Regions from separate parts of the Homo sapiens genome. Here all the other regions are linked to region 4. The links are contacts of gene promoters, found by promoter capture Hi-C in blood cells and fetal thymus (Javierre and others, 2016). All regions are on one chromosome and are shown on one strand. Each heading gives the region's core, a stretch centred on a gene start or on the middle of the fragment in contact. The rest is flanking DNA. Distances are from core to core; before and after follow the strand shown.

Region 1 (3,541 bases), core at 469-2,968, 610 kb before region 4:
GAGATGGGGTTTCACCATGTTGGTCAAGCTGGTCTCAAACTCATGACCTCGTGATCTGCCCGCCTTAGCCTCCCAAAGTGCTGGGATTACAGGCATGAGCCACCGCACCTGCCGTGACTCCACCACCTTTTAAAAACTTGAGATATAATTAATATACCATAAAATTTACTCTCTTAAAGGATATGATTCAGTGGGTTGTAGTATATTTCATAAAATTGTGCAACCATCACCCAATAATCCCAGAATATTTTCATCACCCTAAAAAGAAATCCTATACCTATGAACAGTCACTCCCTTCTCCCAACCCACTAAATCACTAATCTGTTGTCCCTATGGATATGTCTATATTTGACATTTTCTGTAATTGGAATCATAATATGTGGCCTTTTGTGACTAGTTTTCTTTCACAATATTTGTTTCTCTTTATGGCTGAATAATATCTATTGTTTGGATATACCATATATTGTGGGGTTTTTTGGTTTCTTTTTTCATTTGTTTAGTTTTTTTTCAAGCCAGGGTATTGCTCTGTCGCCCAGGCCAGAGTGCAGTGGTGCAATCATGGCTCACTGTAGCCTCAACTGCTGGGGCTCAAGCAATCCTCCCACCTCAACCTCCTAAGTAGCTGGGACCACAGGCACGCACCAACACACCCAGCTAATTTTTTGTATTATTTGTGGAGATGAGGTCTTGCTATGTTGCCCAGGTTGGTCTCAAATTCCTGAGCTCAAGCAATCCTCCCGCCTCAGCCTCCCAAAGTGCTGGGACTACTGTATGAGCCACCACGCCTGGCCCATATATTGTTTATCCGTATTTCAGCTAATGGATATTTGGGTTGTTTCTATTTTTTATCTATTTTGAATAATGCTGCTGTGAACATTCGTGTACAAGTTTTTTTGTGAACATGTTTTAATTTCTTTTGGATATAAGAGCTTGTACAATAATTTAAAAATTATGTACAATTTAAATTTTGGCATGAATATGTTCTTAATTTTTCAAAGCAACTGCATTTATTTCAAATTGGTACACCTCTTTTTTTCAGCGAGTACTGAGCCATCAAGATGATACGGCTTTGCTAAAAGCATATATTGTTGAATGGCGAAAGTTCTTTACACAATGTGATATTTTACCAAAACCTTTTTGTCAACTAGAGATTACTTTAATGGGTAAACAGGGCAGCAATAAAAAATCAAATGTGGAAGACAGTATTGTTCGAAAGGTAAGACTATTTTTCTCCTTGTTTTCCTAATATTCTTCAGAAAGAGGGTAATTTGGAAGCATTTGAAAGTAATTTGAACTTTTAAGTGGGTTTTTCTACTTCACATGTCAATTGCTTTTCAGCTCTTAACTAGATTTTATTGAATAATATTCTTTTTTGTCTTTAGCTTCAATCTTCTTTCATCTTTTTATGTGGTCTTAAGCTATAGATCTGCATCTTCAACCATTATCTCCTTTACTTTTCCTTTTTACTTTCTCCTTCTCCTGGTATTCAGTATTTTATTTCTCTATTCTTTCTTTGTACTCTTTTTTTTTTTTTAAACTGGAGTGTCACTCTGTCGCCTAGGCTGGAGTGTGCAGTGGCGCAGTCTGCTCACTGCAACCTCCGCCTCCTGTGTTCAAGCAATTCTCCTGCCTCAGCCTCCTGAGTAGCTGGGACTACAGGCACGTGCTACCACACCCGGCTATTTTATTGTATTTTTAGTGGAGACCAGGTTTCACCATGTTGGCCAGGCTCGTCTCGAACTCCTGACCTCAGGTGATCTGCCTGCCTCAGCCTCCGAAACTGTTGGAATTACAGGCGTGAGCCACTGCACCCAACCTATACCCTTACTAGAAATTAAATTACTTTTCTCCCTGTCTCAAAAATCCCCTTTTATTAGGTTACCTTCTGATATCTTTATGTTTAATTGTGGCTAAACTGCTATCTTTATAATTTCCCTTTTACTTAACTCTTCTATTATAAATTCAGTATATACTGTGCTTATTTTCTATTTAAAAATTGTGTCAAGTAACCAGTCATGATTTAATGGAAAGAACTCAGTGCTGAATATGAAGGGTCCTAGGTTTCCCTTTCAGCTCTTCAAACTCCGTCCTCATTTTCCATATATCTTTCCACTTGTAAGAATAAAATGGGACCGTAGATTTGAAAAGTAAAAAATGCCATTTGAACTTTAGTCAATTTACTGTTTACTGTGATGGTTACAGTAAAACACTCAGGCATTACAATAGTGTAACCTGGGCATTGTTGCCCCATCCCAGCCTTAAAATTTGATCTGATGTTGACAGGGATACTGTAAATTTAGATACCCAGTGGTTCTTCAGTGATAGAAATCACTGCAATATGGGAAATTTGTGCCAAGGGAAAAAAAAAAGTGAAAAACACTTCTGGCTGCGATTTAATTTGTAGTCTCATAATCTTGTCCTCTTTTTTTGGCCATTCTATTGGTTGTGGGAAGCAGCATCCACTTAGTGATTAAGTGTATCAATTCTGGGGCCACAGTTTTTGGATTCAAATCTCAGTGTTGCCACTGATGAGGTGCATAAATGTGGAAAGTTAGCTTTGCTATCTGTACCCCAGGTTTCACATATCTAAAGGGGGGATAATCATAGTACCTATATCAAGATTATGAGGATTAAATGAGTTACATGCAGACAATACATAGAGCAGTCCCAGGTATAGAATGAGTGTTATAAAACTGTTAACTCTTGTTGTTATTGTTGCTGTCATTAATGTATCTCCTACATCTGACCAAGTTTCTTGGAGTACTGATATAATCACCAATGTTTATATACCATTTTTATCATTTTAATGGAACATCTAAACAGTAGATTTGCAGACCTTTTATAAGGTCCAGTATCAGATTTTCAGTTGGTCCTTTTTACATTTTTTATGTGTCTTTACAAACATATGCATATGTCTATTTCAAACACACCAATATATCTGAAATTCAACCATGGAACTATAGGAGAATAAACATTTTCCATGTATTATCATAGTTAATTTTTACAACCACTGAAATTTGCACTATTATTTTGACCATTTTATACATAAGAAAGCAGATAAATAAGTAACAGCTGGGATTCAAATCCAGTTGGATTCTGAAACACTTGTTCTTTATTTACTTTTGTTTTGTTTGAAATGGGCTCTTGCTGTGTTGCCCAGGCTAGAGTGGAATAGTGTGATCTTGGCTTGCTGCAGCCTTGCCCTCCTGGACTTAAGTGATCCTCCCACCTCAGCCTCCCAAGTAGCTGGGACTACAGGCACATGCCAGCATGCCTAGCAAATTTTTGTATTTTTTGTTGTTGTTGAGATGGGTCTTACTGTGTTGCCGAGGCTGGTCTCAAACTCCTGGCCTCAAGTGATCCTCCCACCTTGGCCTCCCAAGGTTTTGGGATTAGACCACACGCAGTCGACCCTTCTTTACCATTATGCTAAATATACTGCTTCCCCGAAGTATTCAAGTGAATGCAACCTAAGTTATTTTGAGACAGGGTCTTACTCTGTCACCCAGGCTGGAGGGCAGTGGCGTGGTCTCGGCTCACT
Region 2 (3,587 bases), core at 973-3,472, 640 kb before region 4:
AATGCTGAACTAAAATTTATTTACAGATGTCAGATATTCAAACCATTCGTGGAAATGTAAGGAAAATCAAAAGAAGTCTTTTGTACAACAGATACCACATTACAAAATTTGTTGGCCTTTATAATCCCCAATTAGTGAAATGCCATATATTTGCAATAAAAAAAAATAGTAGAAAATCTTGGAGTGGAATGATTAAACAAAGACAGTAGAAATGAGAAATTTTTGCTAAATTCCATCCTTCCATAATCTCAATTTCAAGCATCCTACTTGATTACCTGTTACCACCCTGTCTTTCTGACTCTCTCTAGTGCTTTTATTCCAACAGTCCACCTCCACTACTAAAGCCTTCAGTTCAGTGACTCTGCTACCTCATTGTTTAATGTCTTATATCTGTGGTTTATAGTTTTTATCAAATTAGAAAACATTTTTGCATTTTTCTTCAAATACTCTCTACACCCTTACATCAAGATTCCAATTATGTGTACGTTAGGTCATTTGATGTTCCACAGCTTACTGATACTCATTTAAAAAATATTTCTATGATGTTCATGCCATCCCATACCTTTTTGGTCATATAGAATATGTATAGTAGCTGACTTAATGTCCTTGTTTACTGAATGTAACACCTGTGTCATTTCTGGGTCAGCTTCTTTTGGTGATTTTTTTTGTCTTGGTGATAGTTTATATTTTCCTGTTTCTTTGCATGCTTGGTAGTTTTTAACTGGATGTCAGACATTGTGAGTATATGTTTTAGGGGCTTGATTTTAAAATTTTTCTCTAAATAGTTTTGGATTTGGCTGTGATGCAGTTAGGTAACTTGGAATCAGTTTGATCCTTTTGAAGCTTACCTTTAAGTTTCGTTAGAGTGTGTCCAGAATATCACTCGGGGTAGGGCTACTTTGGCTCCACTATAGACTCAATAACTTTCTGTGGACTCTACCCAATGCCTGGCACTTTAAAGGGTGTTTCCACTCTGGCTGGTAGCAACACTAACTGTTTCTGGCCCTGTGTGCACTCTGCTGATTGTTCTGCCCATTCCCATTCCTTCCTAATGGTTCTTTCCCCAGTCTCTTACAGTTTTCTCACACCCAGGTACAGGTTAGTACTCAGCCACAGGCCTCAGGGACCTTCTGTATAGATACCCAGAGCTCCCTTGATGCCACAAATTCTAGTCACCTCAGCCTTTTCAAACTCTGAACTCTGCCTCTTAAATGTAGTGAAACCCCTAGCGGCTGTTTGGGTTTCCCCTCCTTGTGATGAGGCCTGGAGACACTCTCTAGGCAGTATGTTTGGACATTTGTAGCGCTCACCTCATTTGTTTTTCTTTTCTCAGGAAGCGCTGTCCTGCACTGCTTTTGGTTTTCTAGTTTGTTTAGGCAGGAGGGAAAATCTGGTTCCTGTTATTCTGTCATGATGGGAAGCAGAAGTCTCTTTCTCTTTTCACCTTGAAGTCCATTTTCTCCGCCTTACCCAACATAAATTCTCTTCTCAATCATTATAGTTGTTCCCTTCAATACACTTTTTGCTTCCTTGCCCCTGTCTTGTTCTGCTTGGGAAAAGTGTACAACCCTGGTTAAATCTGTCTCTTCACTTTTCAGTGCCAGTACCTGTGCAGCTGAATGTCACTCGAGAAAAAGACACAACCGTGCTATTTGCACCTTAAATCCATGACCACAATGAGGCCAGTCATACTGCATTTCCAGAGTCACTTATTCTTCCACTTTCCTAGATGTATTTTTCACATCTTTTCTGTCAACATTCTAACATTTCCTCCCCGATCTTCTCAGACATTGTCGTTATTTCCACATCACTGGGAAATTAAAGCAATAAAATATGAACTTCTCAGAGTCGTACGACATCTATCCTTGTACCAGCACCTACATGTACATTCTTTTGCCTTCTCCTCTTAGCCTGTAGTCACTTCCTCCACATATGCGCTAGATCCCATTCCCTCTTGCCTATCCAGTGCAATTTAAATTCACTAGCAGTTTCTCTCCCTTTCCCCACATCATCAACATTTCATATCCTGGAATGTTCCTGTCAGCATACAATCATACTGTATCCTAGCTTTAAAAAATTATTTGGCCAGGCGCAGTGGCTCACGTTTGTAATCCCAGCACTTTGGGAGGCTGAGGTGGGCGGATCACGAGGTCAGGAGTTCGAGACCACCCTGGCCAATGTGGCGAAACCCCATCTCTACTAAAAATAGAAAAATTGGCTGGGCATGGTGGCGGGCACCTGTATTCCCAGCTACTCGGGAGGCTGAGGCAGGAAAACCACTTGAACTTGGGAGGCGGAGGTTGCAGTGAGCAGAGATCACGCCACTGCACTCCAGCCTGAAAGACAGAGTGAGACTCCGTCTCAAAAAAAAAAAAAAAAAAATTATTATTTTTTCACTTCCTCTCACCCTATCAATTACCATGCCATTTCTTTACTCTCTTATACAGGAAAAATTGTGAAGGGTTGTCTGTACTCTTTCTAGTTTTCTTCTTATTTATTTTTGTTTTTATTTACTATTTGTTTTTTGAGATAGGGTCTCACTGTCGCTGTCGCCTAGGCTGGAGTGCAGTGGCGCCATCATGGCTCACTGCAACCTCCGCCTCCAGGCCTTAGTAGCTGGGATTATAGGCGCCACCATGCCCAGCTAATTTTTTTTTTTTTTCTTTGAGACAGTCTCCCCCTGCTGTCCAGGCTGGAGTGCAGTGGCACAATCTTGGCTCACTGCAAACTCCGCCTCCCAGGTTCAAGCAATTCTCCCACCTCAGCCTCCTGAGTAGCCGGGATTACTGGGGCCTACCACCACACCCAGCTGATTTTTGTATTTTCAGTAGAGACAGGGTTTCACCATGTAGGTCAGGCTGGTCTCGAACTCCTGATGTCAAGTCATCCACCCACCCCGGCCTCCCAAAGTGCTGGGATTACATGTGTGAGCCACCGTGCCCAGCCAAATTTTTTGTATTTTTAGTAGAGACAGGCTTTTTCCATGTTGCCCAGGCTGGTCTCGAACTCCTGGGCTCAAGTGACCCGCCCGCCTCAGCCTCCCAGTGTTGGGATTACAAGCATGAACTATTGCGCCTGGCTCCTCGTTTCTCTTAATTCCACTCTTCATTCCACTCTAATCTGGTATTTGTCCTTACTACTCTGCAAAAACTTCTGTGGACAAAGTTTCAGTAACTTCCATATTGCTGTTTCAGTGGTTATCTTACCTGATCTGTCAGGAGAAATTCTTAAAATTGATTATTCTGTCTTTCTGACACACTTTATTTACTTTTTGTCCAGAATACCATACTCTTGGTTTTCTTGCCACCTGTGCTCTGGTTGCTCTCTTTGTCTCCTTTGCTAGTTCTTACTCCTCTCTCCGCCTCTTAATGTTGGATATCTAAAACCTCAGGCTTGGGTCTCCATCTTTATGTATCACTTCTCTCACAGTGATCTCATCCAATAACAGGTTTTAAAACCCATCTGTATTCTGATGACTTCAAGTTTTTATTTTCTGATAGGCCTTTTAAATTCTAGATTTCCATATTGGACTGCCTATTCAACATTTTCATATGAATGTATAATAGATATGTTAAATGTAATACATC
Region 3 (3,856 bases), core at 24-2,523, 670 kb before region 4:
GGCATGAAAACAACATTCATCTCTGTTCATCTCTGTCAGAGCTCTTGAAGCATTTTTGATGAACTGTAGCATTTTGAAAGAAATCTTTTTTTCTGAGCAGTGGGTCTCAACAATGGGCTTAAAACAGTAAACAATGCCACAAACATATGTGCTTTGTCTAGGCTTTATTGTTCCATTTCTGGAGCACAGGCAGAGTAGATTTAACATAATCCTTTTCTTTTTTTTTTTTTTTTTTGAGATGGAGTCTTGCTCTGTCACCCAGGCTGGAGTGCAGTGATGCGATCTCTGCAATCTCGGCTCACTGCAACCTCGCCAAAGTACTGGGATTGTAGGCGTAAGCCATTGCACCCAGCCAATTTAACATAATTCTTAAGGGCCCTTGGATTTTCTGAATGGTAAATAAGTACTGACTTTAACTTAAAATCACCAGCAGCATTAGCTTCTAACAGGAAAGTCAGCCTGTCCTTTGAAGCTTTGAAGCCAGGCATTGACTTCTCTAGCTATGAAAGTTCTAAATGGCAACTTCTTCCAAAAGAAGGCTATTTTGTCTACATTGAAAATTGTTTATCACAGTCACCTTCATCAGTCATCTTAGCTAGATCTTCTAGATAACTTGCTGCAGCTTCTACATAAGCATTTGCTACTTCACCCTGCACTTTTAAGTTACGGCGACAGCTTCTTTCCTTACACCTCATGATCCCAACTATGCTAGCTTCAAACTTTTTTTTTGCAGCTTCCTCTCAGCCTTCATAAAATCGAAGAGTGTTAGGGCCTTGCTCTGGATTAGGCTTTGGCTTAAGGGAACGTTGTGGTTGCTTGGATCTTGTATCCAGACCTCTAAAACTTCCTCCATATCAGCAATAAGGCTGTTTGGCTTTCTTATCACACAGAAAGGGTGTGGCCTTGGGTAACGTGGCTCTCTGCCACTGAGGCAATCCCTGAGGAAACTGCTAGCTGAATGTTGCCTGTCAACAGCACTGCCAGAATCTGGGGCAATAAGTCTTTCACAGAGGGATGATCAGAGTGGGGTATCTCAGTGTCCATCTTAGAAGATTATGAATTAGAAAGACTTAAGGGATATATCAACCACCTATATTGTGTTGATCATATGTTCCTGATTCAACCACAGAAAAGATTTATGTGGCTGGGCATGGTGGCTCACACCTGTAATCCCAGCACTTTGGGAGACCAAGGTGGGAACATTGCTTGAGTCCAGGAGTTGAGCCTGGGCAACATAGTGAGACCCCATCTCCACAAAAAATACAAAAATTAGCTGGGAGTGGTGGAATGTGCCTGTAGTCCTAGCTACTTGGGAGGCTGAGGCAAGTGGATCACTTGAGCCTAGGAAAGTGGGGCTGCAGTGAGCTATGATCACACCACTGCACTCCAGCCTGGGCAACCGAGCACGACCCTGTCTCCAAAAAATAAAGGAATGATGTGACAGTCAGGGAAATTGGAATACTAAACAGTGATATTAAAACATTATTGTTAGCTTTTTGGTGTGATAATGGTATTATTTTTCTAAAGAGCTCTTATCCTTTAGAAATACATACTAAAATGTGTATGAATGAAATGATACGCTATTGATTACAAGTGGGTTGGAGTATACATGAAATAAGAGTGACTATGAGTTGCTGGTATGTGTAGAAGACAAACAATGGCCCCCTAAAGATGACCACATCCTAATTTCCAGAATTTGTGAACATGTTACCTTACACAGCAAAAGAGACTTTGCAGATGTTGTGATCAAGTTAAGGATCTTGGGATGGGGAGTTTAACCTTTTCCAGATGGCCACAATATAATCACAAGTGTCCTTATAAGAGGAAGGCACGAAGGTTAAAGTTAAAAAAAAAAAAGACCACGTGTAAATGGAAGTAGAGGGGAGCAGATCAAAGACAGAAGATGCTACACTGCTGGCTTTGAAGATGGAGAAAGGAGCCACCAGCCAAGGAATTTGGGCAGCTTCTAGAGGCTGGACAAGGCAAGGAACACATTTTTCCTGAAACCTTTAGAAGGAGTGCAGTCCTGCTGACACCTTGATTTTAGCCTTCTGACCTCCAGAACTATAAGAGAATAAGCTTGTATTGTTTTAAGTCACTAAATTTATTATTTATTTATTTATTTTGGAAACAGGGTCTTGCTCTGTCACTCAGGCTGGAGTGCAGAGGTGTGATCTTGGCTCACAGCAACCTCCACCTCCTGGGCTCCAGCTATCCTCTGGCCTCAGCCCCCCAAGTAGCTGGGACCACAGGCACCCGCCAACATGCTTGGCTAATTTTTTTGTATTTTTTTGTATAGATGGGGTTTCACCACATTGCCCAGGATGGTCTCAAGTGATCCTCCTGCCTCGGCCTCCCAAAGTGCTGGGATTACAGGCATGAGCCATCAAGCCTGGCCTTCTTCAACATTTTTTTAAGCCCATATCTTAGTATGTCCTTCCACATTTTATCTCCCTAATACATTTTCAATTGTCTTGTCAAGTTTCTGTTAAAAAAATGATTGAAGTATTATATTGAAATTTTATTGAATATGCAGATTAATTTGGCAGAATTAATTTCATATTAGAGGTGAATGTAACAGGCTGTTCCTGCTAGTCTGAGTTGATTGTGTATACCTAGTGGGAAGATTCAGGCTATCGTCCCTTCTAAGTTTCAAGAATTGAAGGGAGGTCTGTGGTTCTCCAGCCAGTCCACCTATGACAGAATGCACAAGTTCTATTCAAACAAAAGAGAGGGAAAAATGACCAGCTGGGGCCTGGTGTGGTGGCTCACTCCTGTAATCTCAGCACTTTGGGAAGCCAAGGTGGTGGATAACTTGAGTCCAGGAGTTTGAGACAAGCCTGGGCCACACAGTGAAACCCCATCTCTACAAAAAAAGCAAAAAATTAGCCAGGATGCTCAGGAAGGCTGAGGTGGGAGGAACGATTGAGCCCAGGAAGCTGAGGTTGCGGTGAGCTGTGATCTCCCCAACTGCACTCTGGCCTGGGCAACAAAGCTAGACCCTCTCTCAAAAAAAAAAAACAAACAAAAAAAAAACCACTTGACCTTTCAAGATGCAATCTACAATACAGCTTTACTACCACAATGTAAATATTTTAAGCCCTGTTTGTTCCCTTATGCATATTCTCAATTGGCTCATAATTAGCATTTCTAATTATATTTTTTGAAATCACCAATATATTTTAGATAGCTGACTAAATTATGGAGCTCAATGGAGCAGAACAACATAAGCAGAATTGATCCTGAGCATTTTGAAGCATGCCTTGGAGACTAACAAAATAAAACAAAATTTAAAAGTGATAGGGGAAGTGGAGGCTAGTAAAAGGAGCAGCAAAATTTAGGTATTAATGTCGATGTGGGCCAGGAGCAGTGGCTCATGCCTATAATCCCAGCAGTTTAGGAGTCCGAGGTAGGTGGATCACTTGAGGTCGGGAGTTCGAGACCAGCCAGGCCAACATGGTGGAACGCTGTCTCTACTAAAAATACAAAAATTAGTTTGGCGTGGTGGCGCACGCCTGTAATCCCAGCTACTAGGGAGGCTGAGGCAGGAGAATTACTTGAACCCTGGAGGCAGAGGTTGCGGTTAGCCAAGATTGCACTGCTGCATTCCAGCCTGGGCAACAGACCAAGACTCTATCTCAAAAAAAAAAAAAAAAAAAAAAGTTGATGTGACCTCATTGCCTAGACTTGTGAAGTCTTGCAGTATTTTGATTTTATAAGTAATAAGTAGTTTACTAAGCAAAAGTATAGCACAATGCATCCTTTATACTATAACTATTAGATAGCTTTGGCACAGCAAAAATACTCTGACAATTTACTTCAGATATGAATCAATTAAGAAATTGAATTTCATGTA
Region 4 (3,622 bases), core at 871-3,370:
ATGTTGCCCAGGCTGGTCTCGAACTTCCGGGTTCAAGCAATCCTCCCACCTTGGCCTCAGAAAGTGCTGGGATTATAGCTATGAGCCACCGTGCCTGGCCCCTAGATGTTATTGAGGTCTTTCTCTTGGACATTCAGTTTTCCTAGAGTTGAACCTTCCAGTTTCTTGCCTGGGGCGCATATATGCCTGACTCCTACAGTTTTAGGAAAAAAGTGAGTTATAGCTGAGGGCCTTATCGTTCTGTAGGTATGCATATGTGGTATACATATGTAGTAAAATACACATCACATAAAATTTACCATTTTAGCCATTTGTAAGTATACAATTCAGTTGCATTAATTACATTCTCATTGTTGTGCAACCAATCTGCAGAACTCTTTTCATCTTACCAAACTGGAACTCTGCACTGATTAAACAGTAACCCCCTGGTTGCCTGAGTCCCTGGCAACCACAAGTCTACTTTCTCTATTATTTTGACAACTCTAAGTTTCTCATATAAATAGAACCATATATAGTATTTGTCCTTTTGTGACTGGCTTATTTCACTTAGCTTAATATTCTTAAAGTTTATCCACGTTGTGGCATGTGTCAGAAATTCCTTCTTTATGAAGGCTGAATAATATTCCATTTTAGGTACATATTATGTTTTGTTTACTCATTCATCAGTTGATAGACACCTGGGTTGCTTCCACATTTTAGCTATAGTGCTGTGGTGAACACGGTATGCAAATATCTGAGACCCTGCTTTCGATTATTTTGGCTATGCATACCCAGAAGTGAAATTGCTGGCTCACGTGGAGTTCTATTTTTAATTTTTTGAGGATGTATATACACTTTCATGTAATCACTCCTTATTGAGCTTTACTGTCTACCACATCTAGTGTTCCTGAGTGTGGAAATTCTCTTGTTCACCTCCTGTCCTCACTCCCTTCCAATAAGCCATGTCTTGTTTGGAGGATGGGCATAGAGTTGAGAGTAGTGATCTGGATATGTGGGGTTGGAAAGGAAATTTGAGAGCCCAAAATTCTGCCTGTGAACTTTGAACTCAATTTTCCAATCTCCTTTGCTACAGCTAAGCTCTCCCACCCACATCCGGTGTTTTCCTGGAGGCTGTAGGTAAATGTGTCAAAAAATTCAATTCATTGAAAGCCAGTTCACTTAAATGTCCAACTTGCAATAACTTTTCTATTACCTCCTTTTTTTTTTTTTTTTGACGGAGTTTCACTCTTTCACCCAGGCTGTGGTGAAGTGGGGCGATCTTGGCTCACTATAACCTCCGCCCCCGGGGTTCAAGCGATTCTCCTGCCTCAGCCTCCCAAGTAGCTAGGATTATAGGTGTGCACCACCACGCCTGGCTAATTTTTGTATTTTTAGCAGAGACAGGGCATCACCATATTGGCCAGGCTGGTCTCGACCTCCTGACCTCAGGTGATCCACCCACCTCGACCTCCCAAATTGCTGGAATTACAGGCGTGAGCCACCGTGCCCGGCCTCTATTACCTACCTCCTTACGTTTAGTTATCATTTTGTCTCCATAAAAGCATTTTAAGGCAAATTCAATTTGATTCCGTTCCAGTTTCCTTGCTGTTGCAGCTAGAGTCTGAGGGGCCCAGAGGAAAAGGAAAACCCAGAGGGGCATAAGAAGAATATAGAATATTCATTTTTATTCCTGAGGAAGTACAACCACCATGGATGGAAATCAGAAGTCACTAACTAGCTGTTTACTTCTGGGCAAATCTTTTGGCTCGTTGGCCCGAAAAGTGCAAAACGAGGGTCACAATTTTCATTCACAGATTGTATGTGTTTACACACATACTCACGAACGCTTAGCAAAGTTGAACCTGGAGCAAATGTGTTAATAGCCCTTAAAGGGTCAGTGTATGACGTCACCATAGTAACAACAACAGTGCGCATGCGTTTTTTTTTAAAGAGCCGGCGTGCTCCCGGCTCGGCTCAGCTCGCCCCCTTCCGTGGAGTGCTGCGCCCCCGTTTCCCCAGGCTGCCCCTCCCAGCAGGAGCCAATTCGCCAATCACAGCCCTCCTTTTCCTGACGTCATTGGCGCGTGCCCCGGTTTCAAAAGCTCGGGGGCGGGCTTCTGAGTTCGCGCATGCGCCTCTGTGCGTTTGTCCCATGCTGGTTCCGTGAGTCTGGCCTTAGGTGTCTCGTGTCTGGGGTTGATCCGAGCTGTCGCCGCCGCCGCCGCAATGGGCAAAACGGCCAACTCTCCGGGTTCGGGAGCCCGACCCGACCCGGTGCGGAGCTTCAATCGCTGGAAGAAAAAACACAGCCATAGGCAGAACAAAAAGAAGCAGTTGAGGAAGCAACTGAAGAAACCCGAATGGCAGGTCGAGCGCGAGAGTATCAGCCGCCTCATGCAGAACTATGAAAAGGTGAGGCCGGCGCTGGGGAGGGGGCTCGGGCCGGCCAGCAGCGGGGCAGCGTCTCACTGCGGCGAGGAGTTGCAGAGTGGAGGCGGCGGATCTGTCACCGGGACCCGGCCGGGAATGAGAGGTCACGCCGGGTGCCACAGCTCAAACCTCTGCACCGTTCTGGCCACTCTTCTGCTTGCCACACTGTTCCTAAAAAAATAATAGAAATGCGGCCGTACCTAAGGGTAGGGAGACTAATGCTGTAATAGCTACAGTCATATTCATATTAATAATACTGATGACAATAGTGGTAATAATGACACCTACATTTTTAAGCACTCACCATGTGCTTACAGTAATTGTTTGACTTGATCTGAGGTATGGATATTAATAATCCTATTTAACAGATGAGATAATTGAGGTTCTAAGAGGAATGAAACTTGTCCGAATCTTTCACGCTTAGTAGGTGGTGTGGAATTGGAAGCTAGATCCATGTCTTTCTAATCCCAAAGCCTTTGCTTTTAACCATGAAGCCAGACTGCATCCCTCAACATCATCTATGCTCCTTCCTGTGGCCACCTCATTTTCTCCACAGGCTTCATGTCCCCATCCAAGAATTGGCCTAGAAAAGCTGGACCGCTGGTCTGTTTCTGTCACCTATCATCCCCACATTGTAGCTGGTGTTCCCAGATGAGTATACCTGTAATGATCACTTTGACCTCCTGACTTCTTCCCCCAACCTCCAGACTCCACAGGTCTGTCAATTCCTCTTTTCCCTTTCCCTAAATCCCATGTTTGTTGGTCTTCACCCACATCTTTCAGCTTCTCAGCCCCCTTCTAGTGCAGTACAATCAGGGATTTAACAGATGGAACATTCTTGTAACTAAGGTTGCCATTGTAACAAATTACCACAAACTTGGCGGCTTAAAACAACAGAGATCTTGAGGTCAGGAGTTCGAGACCAGCCTGACCAACATGGTGAAACCCCGCCTCTACTAAAAATACAAAAAAATTAGCTGGGCCTAGTGGTGGGTGCCTGTAATCCCAGCTACTCGGGAGGCTGAGGCAAGAGAATCGCTTGAACCCGGGAGGCAGAGGTTGCAGTGAGCCCAGATCGCACCATTGCACTCCAGACTGGGTGACATGAGTGAGACTCTGTCTTAAACAAACAAACAAAAAAGCCCAGCAACAACAGAGATTTACCTTGTCACAGTTCTGGAGGCCATACGTCTGAAATCAGTTTCACTGGGCC
Region 5 (3,691 bases), core at 468-2,967, 570 kb before region 4:
ATCACCTGAAGTCAGGAGTTCAAGACTAGCCTGACCAACATGGCAAAACCGCGTCTCTACTAAAAATACAAAAATTAGCTGGATGTGCTGGTGCACTCCGGTAATTCCAGCTGCTTGGGAGGCTGAGGCAAGAGAATCACTTGAACCCAGGAGGTGGAGGTTGCAGTGAGCCAAGATCGTGCCATTGCACTCCAGCCTGGGTAACAGAGTGGGACTCCATTTCAAAAAAAAAAGAATATACCATCAATTATATAAAATAAAGTGATATCTAATAAATGTTCTTAATACTTTCAGTAAAGTATCTTTGTTCTTGAGTTGTTTCTACTGTTTCACTCCCATTTGTACCTCAACTCTCATTTAAACTGACCTTATTAATAAATAGACTACAGGGGCTGGGCACGGTGGCTCACACCTATAATCCCAGCACTTTGGGAGGCCAAGGCAGGTGGATCACAAGGTCAGGAGATCGAGACCATCCTGGCTAACACAGTGAAACCCAGTCTCTATTAAAAATACAAAAAAATTAACGAGGCGTGGTGGTGGGGGGCCTGTAGTCCCAGCTACTTGGGAGGCTGAGGCAGGAGAATGGCATGAACCCTGGGGGGCGGAGCTTGCAGTGAGCTGAAATCGAGCCACTGAACTCCAGCCTGGGTGACAGAGCAAGACTCCATCTCAAGAAAAATAAAATAAATAAATAGACTGCAGGACAAATTATTATATCTTTAAGGTATTTTCAGTACTAAATGCTTAACTTTAGAGATGTTTATAAATGATAACAATAAATACTTCTGTATAGCAAAAAGAACCTTTAAATGATGGCCTATTTAGGGTAATCAATGCTGATTATAACTAAATTCCCATATAAAGTATTTTGAGTTCTTTTTTTGTTTTAATTATTAAAGTAAATATCTTTAATTTCTGTGTATGTATATAACTCTCTCCACATATATATGGAGAGAGAGAGAGTGCGAGCAAGCACACACGAGAGAGACCTACAGATATTTTAACTTATAGCTAGCCCTTCGCATGGAACTTTAGGATAGTAAAAATTACTGTGCTAACTGAAACTGCTTAGTAGGAAAAAGAATGATTATTCTGTGACTTTTTAAAACTATTGTCAAAAGACTCAAAACTCTTACTGTCACTTATAAGTATATAGGAAAAAGGGGAAAATAGCAAAACTAATACATATTTACTACGAGAAACCTTTAGAATTAAATTTTCTTTCTTTCTTTCTTTTTTTCTTTTTTTTGGAGATGTAGTCTTGCTGTGTTACCCAGGCTGGATTGCAGTGGTGCAATCTTGACTCACTGAAACCTCTGTCTCCCAGATTCAAGCAATTCTCCTGTCTCAGCCTCCTAAGTAGCTGGGACTACAGGTTTGTGCCATGACGCCTGGCTAATTTTTGTATTTTTAGTAGAGACACGGTTTTGCATGTTGGCCAGGCTGGTCTTGAAATCCTGGTCTTAAGTGATCCGCCTGCCTCGGCCTCCCAAAGTACTGAGATTACAGGCGTGAGCCACCACACCCGGCCTATGTTATTTCTTTGTTAAAAAAAAAATATCAAGACCCAACAGTAAAATGACAAACAAGGCTAGGCATGGTGGCTCACACCTGTAATCCCAGCACTTTGGGAGGCTGAGGAGGGCAGATGGCTTGTGCTCAGAGTTTGAGATGAGCCTGGGCAACGTGGTGAAACCCCATCTCTACAAAAATTTAAAAAATTAGCTGGGTGTGATGGCATGCACCTTAGTCCCAGCTGCTTGGGAGGCTGAGGTGGGAGGATCGCCTGAGCCTGTGAGGTGGAGGTTGCATTGAACAGAGATCTTACCACTGTACTCCTGCCTGAGCAACAGAGTCAGATCCTGTCTCTCTCACTCACACACACACACACACACACACACACACACACACACGACAAATAATTAAAAGCAGGCAAAGGATTCGAATTGACATCTCTTCACAGAAGATAGACAGATGGCCAATAAGTGCATGCAAAGATACTCAACATCATTAGTCATTAGTGAAATGCAAGTGAAATGCTCAACATGTTGGCTCCTGCTTATCCCAAATATTTTGAAAGGCTGAGGTGGGAGGATTGCATGAAGCCAGGAGTTAGAAACTACCCTGGGCAAAATAACAATACTCCATGTCTACAAAAAATACAGAAATCAGCTAGGCATGGTGATGTGTGCCTGTGGTTCTAGCTACTCAGGAGGCTGAGATGGGATGATTGCTTGAGCCCAGAAGTTCAAAGTTGTAATGAGCTGAGATTGTGCCACTGCACTGCAGCCTGGGCAACAGAGTGAGACCCTTTCTCAAAAACAAAAAAAACACAAAGAGATACTACTTTATTCCCACTAGGGTAGCTAAAATAAAGACAGATGATAACAAATGCTAGTAAGGAAGAGGAGAAATTGGAACCTTCGTAAGTTGCTAGTGGAGACATAAGATGGTGCAGACACTTTGGAAAACTGTTGGGCAGTTCCTTAAAATGTTGAACGTAGAGCTGACCCAGCAATTTCACTCTTAGGTAATTCATTTGAAGAGAAATGAAAACATGTTTCATGTAAAAACTTGTAAACAAATGTTCATGGCAAGATTACTAATAATAGTCAAAAAGTGGAAACAACCCAAAATGTCAGTGAGCTAATGAATAAAATGTGATTTATCCATACAATGGAATATTTTTTGTGATAAAAAGGAATAAACTAATAATACATGCTGCAATATTAGGTGAACTTTGAAAACATAATGCTGAGTGAAAGAAGCCAATCCCAAAGACCATATCGTATGATTCCACTAATGTGAAGTGTCCAGAATAGGCAAATCCACAAATTCCAGGAGTTGGGGCCAGGAGGGGAAATGACGAGTGACTGTAAATAGTATGGGGTTTCTTTTTGGGGTGATGAAAATGTTCTAAAATTAGATAGTGGTGATGGTTGCACAGTTCTGTAGATATACTAAACTTCATTACACTGTATATTTTATTTTTATTTTTATTTTTTATATTTTTTTGAGACAGAGTCTCACTTTGTTGCCCAGGCTGGAGTGCAGTGGTGCGATCTTGGCTCACTGCAACTTCTGCCACCCAGGTTCAAGCGATTTTCCTGCCTCAGCCTCCTGAGTAGCTGGGATTACAGGCGCATGCCACCATGCCCAGCTAATTTTTGTATTTTTAGCAGAGATGGGTTTCACCATGTTAGCCAGGCTGGTCTTGAACTCCTGACCTCAGGTGATCCACCCGCCTCAGCCTCCCAAAGTGCTGGGATTACAGGCATGAGCCCAGCCAAATTGTATACTTTAAAATAGTAGATTTTATGGTAGATAAATTATCTGACACAGTAAAGCTGTTAATAAAGAGTAGTTTGAATAGCTTTTGCCTTCTTGTGTAACTTGACAGAGTAAGCATCTTTTCTTTGCCTTGGAGAGTTGTCACACCCCCTGTAATTTGGATGATCTTCTAGCATTTTATCTTTTGGGCTGTCAGTGTCATGAAATACTGAGAATTCCTTTATAGCATTTTTGCCAGGATCACTTCTTCTAGGGTATCTTATCTTTTTTGTCACTCACCACTTTTATCTTTTATGTTGGTAATTTGCTTTCACTAAGTTCCTCAACACTGGCATTGTCAGCCTTACTACCACAGTCAGCTTTCTTCTATAACTCCATTTATGTTCTATTTTATTTT
Region 6 (3,833 bases), core at 1,268-3,767, 560 kb before region 4:
AGTTTTACAGAAAGATTTGCTATCTTAAACTCAAGCTGGTTTTTCTGTTCTCATGTAAGTGACTGGGATGCTGTCTTATGAATTCTTCCAAGGTCATGTTTGTGAAATAAACATTACATGAGAGCTTTCCTGTCATCTACACTATATGTTGTCTGGAGTGTTGAACAAATTTATTTTAGTTTCTAAGTTGTAATCTATCCTCATATGGTCTATACGATTTTGAATGTGTGCCACTACATACTGAGATGATAATGCTGTACAATTTTAAGTGGTAGCAGTTTCTGTATGCAGTAGGCTGAAATATTTTGATGAACTGCTTAATTTTTGGATTTTATTTTTTAAGTTGTATAATTTATTTTCTTGCAAAATAAAAATGTAATATAAAAGCTTTTACCTATCCAGAAAATGTTGATGTTCTACTATAAAATAGTTACAAAGAGTTTAATTAAAATTTTTATAGTAGGTATATTTTTAAATTTGAAGGTAAATTAATCTCAGCCAGCCTTAGGAATCAGAAATATGAAAAGTAACCCACTTATTTATATTAGACTTCAAATTCTAATTCAAAATGAGAGCAGTCAGGAATGTAGCTTTTCCACTGATGATAGCATGTGGCTATATGCCTGGAAGAGGTAATAAAAAAAAAAAAATTCCAACCTGAAAGTGGTTAATATATTCATCAACTAAGATAGGCTATGTCATAACAAAATTCAAATTTTATAGCAGATAAAAGTAAAAAATGGGCCGGGCTCAGTGGCTCACGCCTGTAATCCCAGCACTTTGGGAGGCCAAGGTGGGTGGATCACCTGAGGACAGGAGTTCAAGACCAGCCTGGCAAACATGGTGAAACCCTGTCTCTACTAAAAATATAAAAATTAGCCGGGTGTAGTAGCGCGCGCCTGTAGTCCCAGCTACTCGGAAGGCTAAGGCAGGAGAATCGCTTGAACCCGGGAGGCGGAGGTTGCAGTGAACCAAGATTGTGCCACTGCACTCCAGCCTGGGCGACAGAATGAGACTGTCTCAAAAAAAAAAAAAAAAAAAAAAAAAAAGTAAAAAATGTAAAACATAATCATTTCACATTTTGGATATATTTGAAAATTTGTGAAATACTTATTTTTGTTTTTATTTTTATTTTTTGAGACAGAGTCTCACTTTGTCACCCAGGCTGGAGTGCAGTGGCGCGATCTCGGCTCGCTGTAAGCTCCATCTCCTGGGTTCATGCCATTCTCCTGCGTCAGCCTCCCGAGTAGCTGGGACTACAGGCGCCTGCCACCACACCTGGCTAATTTTTTGCAGTTTTAGTGGAGACAGGGTTTCACCATGTTAGCCAGGATGGTCTCAATCTCCTGACCTCGTGATCTAGCTGCCTCGGCCTCCCAAAGTGCTGGGATTACAGGTGTGAGCCATCGCGTCTGGCCTGAAATACTTATTTTTAAGCTAGAAATAGTTTGGCAATAAGGTTGTGAAACTGGACAGATAATAGCAATTAGTTACTGATCAAGTGAACAATTTAATAATCGAAAAAACTCTTGACTATAAGAAACTTGAATTGCATACAGGGACTTAATTACCCAGAGGAACTAAATTTAAAAGAAATTTCAGGCTGGGCGCAGTGGCTCACACCTGTAATCCCAGCACTTTGAGAAGGTGAGGTGGGCAGATCACTTGAGGTCAGGAGTTCAAGAACAGCCTGGCCAACATGGCAATACCCCATCTCTACTAAAAATACATACCTGTAATCCCAGCTACTCAGGAGGCTGAGGCATGAGAATCACTTGAGCCTGGGAGGTGGAGGTTGTAGCAAGCTGAGATCGCACCACTGCGCTCCAGCCTGGGCAACAGGGCCAGACTAATTCATTCATTGATTCATAAATAAATGTTATAGAGCTCCTTTACATTGAGGGATCATTTCTTGTTCCTACTGTAGTAGTCAATAAATGTTTTGGACAACTGGATGGAGGAACACATTTGACTTCATAACGACTCTAAACTCAACCTTGGACTTAAACTGGCATTTGGGAGTTTGGGGTTGGGGGAGGAGTTGACTTGGAAATGAAGCTAGAGAAGGTATTTTCTCAGTATAAAATTTCATCTGAACCAAGAAACAGATTTCATTTAAACCAAGAAATAAGCTTAAGCTTTTGGGCCCCTTGTACAAGGCTCTGGGAGGGGGAGCCCTACAAGTTTTGTATTTTCTTAAAGAGGGTCCTCAAAATATCAAGTTGGATTCAGCCCTGTTAAACCTCAGTGTAAAAAGGGCACATAGTAGGACTGAATGAATGATAGCACATGTGCCTGAGAATATAGTTCAATGTTTTAGTTCTTTTTTTTTTTTTTTTTTTTTTTTTGAGATAGAGTTTCTGTCACCTAGGCTGGAGTGCAGTGGCACAATTGCAGATCATTGCAGCCTTGAACTCCTGGGCTCCAGTGATCCTCCCACTTTAGCCTCCTGAGTAGCTGGGACCACAGGCACACACCACCTAGGTAATTTTTTTTTTATTTGCCTAGGTAATTTTTTTTTTATTTGCGGAGAGGAGGTCTCACTATGTTGCCCAGGCTGGTTTCGAACTCCTGAGTTCGAGCAGTCCTCCTCCCTTGGCATCCAGGAGTGCTGGGATTACAGGCATGAGCCACCGCACTCGGCCAATATTTTACATTTTAAGTGTGGAGACTTTATTTCCCATTCCCCATTCTGGGCTATACAATAGAATATGGACTTTTTATATCACGGAACTCCTGTTTTGACAGTGTACAACCCAGAGCAGGGTGACAATTTAGATTAACAATTGATGGTGAGAGTTGAGTTCTAGACTTTTGTGAACATCTGATTAAAGCAAAATACATGCATATAAAAATATAAACAAGTGCATATATAAATGTTAAGAGTTAACACACCCAAGCTTAGAAATCTTTAATAGTGATGTCCTGGAGTGCGTAAAATGAGTAACAGCTTGCTTTGTGGATTGGTCATGGCCTAACTTCAGGAGCGCTGATCCAAACTTTGATTTGCTCTACTTATCTAGAGAATAACAGAAGACTTCTCTGAGTGTTAATGGCTTCTTCCTATTTTACTTAATAATAAAGGAAATAGAGTATTTCCTTTTTTCCTTTATTATGCTGTAATTACTGAGCCAGACTGATACTGTTTAGATTTTTCTTCAGCAGTGGTTGATGGTCGAGGTGTGGCTCACACCTCTAATCCCAGCACTTTAGGAGACTGAAGCAGGAGGATCACTTGAAGCCAGGTTCAAGACCAGCCTGGGCAGCATAGTGAGGCCCCCATCTCCACAAAAATGTAAAAATTAGCCAGCGGTGGTTGGTTGCACAAACCTGTAGTCCCAGCTACTCAGGAGGCTGAGGCTGCAGTGAGCTGTGATTGTGCCACTGCACTCCAGTCTAGGGAACAGAGTGAGACTCTGTCTTAAAAATAAGTGGAACTTGGGAATACTTTAACATGTTGTTTTCCCATGGCTGCTAAATGTATAATTATTAATATTTACCCCTACTCTACCTTATCTCCTAAATTCTCAGTAGATGATATTGCTTTGAAAAAATAAACAGAGAAAATAAGGCCTTCAGGCATGAACTCTTAACTTGCCTTTTCTCCACCTGTAAACTTTACCTCTAATCATGTACATCTTCATCTGCCTGCCTGTCTCAGAGGAAGAGATCACCTCACTTGTTGCTCAAGACCAACTATTTTATCTTTTTCTGAATTCCATCCTCTCCTTCCCTCTGTGTTTTGCCTTTTAAATATCTCCATCGCATAAATGTTTCAAACATTCTTCTTTTGGATATTTTTTTCTTCGCCTACTCCAGTGGCTCTCCATTTT
Region 7 (3,663 bases), core at 44-2,543, 600 kb before region 4:
CAAAAAAAAAACCAGAGTATCATTATTTCATACCCCTGATTTTTAAGACCCTTCATAATTTGACCCTAACCTATTTTTCTAACTTAATATTGTCCAGCAAGAGTCACTCTACTCCAATAAGAAATATTTTTTTATTCATACAACTCACTCTGTTACTTTTTTTTTTGGATTCATTTTAGCAGTGTTTTCTTCTGCCTACCCAAAATCTTGCAAGGATTCTTTTAACTCACCTTGTAATAAAATTGTAATAAAGTAGCTCAGATCATCTAGCCTTCATCAGTTTCTTCCTATTTGAATTCCCGTGGTAACTATTGTTTCTACCACTAGGTTTAGGAGCAAATTATAGACTGCCTTGTATTTCTTATCAAGCACCAGCTGTGTGCCAGGACACAGCACAGTCTTTATAGCTGTGGACAGAGCACAATCTTTGTCCTTAAGTTTATAGTATAGTAATGATGCATTTTCCAGTTATTTGCTTATTAGTGAAGATCTTCTTTTCATACACATCTGTACATATGAACCATACACATGTTTTTAGGTATATAGTTTATGGGTTTCCAACTGGATTGTAAGATCATTGAGGGCATGAACCATGTTTATACTTCTCTATTCCTTAAAACACGTAACTCAGTTCTGAGCATGTAGCCATCACTAAGTATGTACATGCTCTACTTCTGTAGTAAGAAAAGTTGGAGGCTATGGAGATACATACCTGGCCTCAAATTATAACTCAAGACCTTATGAACCAACTGTGCAACATTTGGAAGTTATGTGGCTACTCTCAGTCTATGTCCTCATAAAGTAAGTATCTGCCTCATGAGGTTGCCATGTGGGTTAAATGAGATCTATATGTAAAGCATTTAGCATAATGCCTGGTACAAAGTAAGTGCCCATTAAAGGATACCTGTTATAATAATTTGTTTAACCTCTCAAGCTAGAAATGGATTCAACATCCTTTTATTTCCCTAATCCCTTTCATTTAAGCATTTACCAAATTCTTCTCAGTTTACTTTAATTATGTTGTCAATTTAGCTCTCCTTTTAATCCTCGTTGTAACCCACCATAAGAAATACATTTTATATTGTGGCTTAGAATATACTGTTTATTTGTACATATCTGAAACAAAAGTCTTATGAAATAATATTCATTGTTACAATATGTGATACACTCTGATATTTTTTGTTCTGTCCTATGTACATTTTTTTTTTTTTTAAACCTGGTCACAGCCATTAAAACTGATTTCACAACATACAGTCTGAAACACACTGGTCTGGATTTTTAGAATCTGCAAAATTTCAACTACCACTGAACAGGATAATGTTCAAGTGAAAGTTTTCAATGAAATAGAAAACACAGAGCTTAGAGTTTATTAGGATTCCACTTTGTCTTTGTTCTCTATTAGTTATATATTGTTAGATTTACCTATGCTCAATCTGGTTTCACTGCTTAAGGTGGAAGTGTTTAGTTGGGCCTATTCCAGTGATGTTATAGAATAAGATTACTCAGCAGTTGGGGCAGAGATTTCCACCTTGCAAGGAAAGAGTTTCTTAACCATTTTATATGTGTAGTCTTTTCTTTATTTTTCTTTTTTTTTTCCTTTTTTGAGACGGAGTTTTGCTCTTGTTGCCCAGGCTGGAGTGCAATGGCACGATCTCGGCTCACTGCAATCTCTGCCTCCCAGGTTTAAGCAATTCTCCTGCCTCAGCCTCCCGAGTAGCTGGGATTACAGGCACCCACCATGCCCGGCTAATTTTTAGTAGAGATGGGGTTTCTCTGTGTTGGTCAGGCTGGTCTTGAACTCCTGACCTCAGGTGATCCGCCCGCCTTAGCCTCCCAAAGTGCTGGGATTATAGGCTATGAGCCACCACGCCCAGCCATGTGTATTATTTTCTTAGGACAGAAATATACATGGATATATGCATTTAAAAGTCATCAGCATCATTCTTGTAGAGGAGCCTGAAAAAACCTTTTTTTTTGTTTTGTTTTGTTTTGTTTTGTGACAGTCTTGCTCTGTCGCCCAGACTACACTGCAGTGACATGATCAAGGCTTACTGCAGCCTTGACCTCCTGAGCTTAACTGACCCTCCCACCTCAGCCCCCCAACTCGCAGGGACCACAGAAAATTCTTTATTCGGAAAATTTTAAGCATTTTTACAATGTAGGAAGAACAGTATAATGAATCCCCATTACCTAAATTCAGCTTTAGTAGTTACCAACATTATGTCAATTCCAAAGGAATTTTTAATAAAAAATTTTTAAGGGACACATAATTGCCTCCCTTAATTTACAGATAGATGATTTGTTTTTCAGAAGAAATATATCAGCCTTATTGTACTTAACTTTAGTCCTCACAACCTATTAATTTCATCTGATCCCCAAAAGAGAAGTAAATAATTACATGACACGAGGGAGCAGAGATGACATGATATCTTCTGCCTCATTTAGATTTTCCTGATGGCCTCCTAGAGCACTAGACCCTTGCTATCTTACCTGAAATAGTTCAACAGCCTCGTTACCATATCCCAACCACCCACTCCTTACCACCTGCCTTACTACCATTATACTGATCTTTAATAATGACTTGAGGAGAGGAGAATCTCATTACATTTATCCTCTGTTTAAAACTTCCTTGGGGCCAGGCCTGATGGTTCACACCTGTAATCCCACACTTTGGGAGACTGACAGGGGGATCATGTGAGACCAGGAGTTTGTGACCAGCCTGGGGAACATAGCAAGACATCATCTCTACAGAAAAGTTTAAAAAATTAACCAGACTTGATAGTACATCCCTGTAGTCCTAGCTACTCAAGAGGCTGAGGCAGGAGGATCACTTGAGCCTAGGAGTTCAAGGCTGTAGTGAGGTATGATAGTAGCTATGTAGTAATGCCACTGTACTCCAGCTTGGGCAGCAGAGCAAGACTCTGTCTCTTAAACAAACAAAAAAACCTTCCTTTGTTCTTCCTTCCCTACCTATGAAATAAAACCCCAAATCATAGATTTTCATTCATAATCTGGTTGCAGCCTATCTTTCTAGCCTTCTCTTCCACTGTCTGTTTCTTCTCTACCATTTTAAGCTTCCTGGTATTCCTAGAATACGTAACCTATTTTAGGGCTTGTACTTACTTTACAGGATCCCATTTAGATACCAACTTGTGGATGAGGCCATTTTAACTACCCTAGAAAAAAGTAGTTTCTAAGTTTTTTTTTATTTTGTGTGTGTTTGTGTATGTGTGTGATGCCACTTAACTGAGTTATATTTAGTTAGCAGTGTAGGTTTACTGCCCTCCTCACTCTCAATTAGACAGTGATCTCTTCGAGAGCAGGAATTATATCTTATTCTTGTCTCTTAAATACTTCCTTAGTGCCTGCACGTAGTAGGCATCCAATAATGGTTTGTTGAATGAATGTATTCACACTTCTAGAATTTTATAACCTAATTTTAAAACAGGTTCTCTCCAGACAGGAAGAGTTAATCAAAGTTTGGTTTTGTATATTTTTCTCTCCCCTCCTTGAGGACTTTTGTTAAAATTTCTAAAGAGAGTCTAGTTCTATAGTTTTTTTCCTTAGGGGAAAATACACTTTGGTAAACTAGTATAGCATATCCATCTTCAATAATCCTATAGTTAAGGTAAGTGAAATCTACTTTCAGTATAATTTTTTTTT

The links. The method cuts DNA at HindIII sites, captures the fragments that hold promoters and counts their contacts. A CHiCAGO score of 5 or more calls a contact.
Region 1: a fragment that was not itself captured here is called in contact with the fragment with the promoter of DDX10 in region 4 in 4 of 17 cell types (non-activated CD4 T cells, naive CD8 T cells, total CD4 T cells and 1 more); the score reaches 8.4 in non-activated CD4 T cells.
Region 2: a fragment that was not itself captured here is called in contact with the fragment with the promoter of DDX10 in region 4 in 9 of 17 cell types (naive CD8 T cells, naive CD4 T cells, total CD8 T cells and 6 more); the score reaches 10.1 in naive CD8 T cells.
Region 3: a fragment that was not itself captured here is called in contact with the fragment with the promoter of DDX10 in region 4 in 5 of 17 cell types (total CD4 T cells, total CD8 T cells, fetal thymus and 2 more); the score reaches 8.9 in total CD4 T cells.
Region 5: a fragment that was not itself captured here is called in contact with the fragment with the promoter of DDX10 in region 4 in 6 of 17 cell types (naive CD4 T cells, total CD4 T cells, naive CD8 T cells and 3 more); the score reaches 11.0 in naive CD4 T cells.
Region 6: a fragment that was not itself captured here is called in contact with the fragment with the promoter of DDX10 in region 4 in 7 of 17 cell types (total CD4 T cells, naive CD4 T cells, erythroblasts and 4 more); the score reaches 11.1 in total CD4 T cells.
Region 7: a fragment that was not itself captured here is called in contact with the fragment with the promoter of DDX10 in region 4 in 5 of 17 cell types (total CD4 T cells, naive CD4 T cells, fetal thymus and 2 more); the score reaches 9.3 in total CD4 T cells.

The regions. Positions count from the first base shown.
Region 1 is chr11:108,048,851-108,052,391 of GRCh38, forward strand. It overlaps CUL5 (cullin 5), which reads left to right. Exons shown (of 19, transcript NM_003478.6): 4 at 1,040-1,216. Among named protein-coding and RNA genes, the nearest start is that of CUL5, 42 kb to the left of the region's middle. The HindIII fragment of the contact is 4,378 bases long and covers 1-3,541 here.
Region 2 is chr11:108,024,626-108,028,212 of GRCh38, forward strand. All of the region lies in intron 1 of CUL5 (cullin 5), which reads left to right. Among named protein-coding and RNA genes, the nearest start is that of CUL5, 18 kb to the left of the region's middle. RefSeq lists an enhancer at 1,296-1,395. The HindIII fragment of the contact is 2,762 bases long and covers 842-3,587 here.
Region 3 is chr11:107,995,327-107,999,182 of GRCh38, forward strand. No RefSeq gene overlaps it. Among named protein-coding and RNA genes, the nearest start is that of CUL5, 12 kb to the right of the region's middle. The HindIII fragment of the contact is 1,607 bases long and covers 471-2,077 here.
Region 4 is chr11:108,662,949-108,666,570 of GRCh38, forward strand. It overlaps DDX10 (DEAD-box helicase 10), which reads left to right and starts at 2,121. Exons shown (of 18, transcript NM_004398.4): 1 at 2,121-2,391. The coding sequence starts at 2,206. The HindIII fragment of the contact is 12,853 bases long and covers 1-3,622 here.
Region 5 is chr11:108,089,817-108,093,507 of GRCh38, forward strand. The region is part of intron 13 of CUL5 (cullin 5); the gene reads left to right. Among named protein-coding and RNA genes, the nearest start is that of ACAT1, 30 kb to the right of the region's middle. The HindIII fragment of the contact is 5,776 bases long and covers 1-3,691 here.
Region 6 is chr11:108,107,376-108,111,208 of GRCh38, forward strand. CUL5 (cullin 5) reads left to right here. Exons shown (of 19, transcript NM_003478.6): 19 at 1-386. Among named protein-coding and RNA genes, the nearest start is that of ACAT1, 12 kb to the right of the region's middle. The HindIII fragment of the contact is 762 bases long and covers 2,137-2,898 here.
Region 7 is chr11:108,066,343-108,070,005 of GRCh38, forward strand. All of the region lies in intron 7 of CUL5 (cullin 5), which reads left to right. Among named protein-coding and RNA genes, the nearest start is that of ACAT1, 53 kb to the right of the region's middle. The HindIII fragment of the contact is 3,557 bases long and covers 1-3,072 here.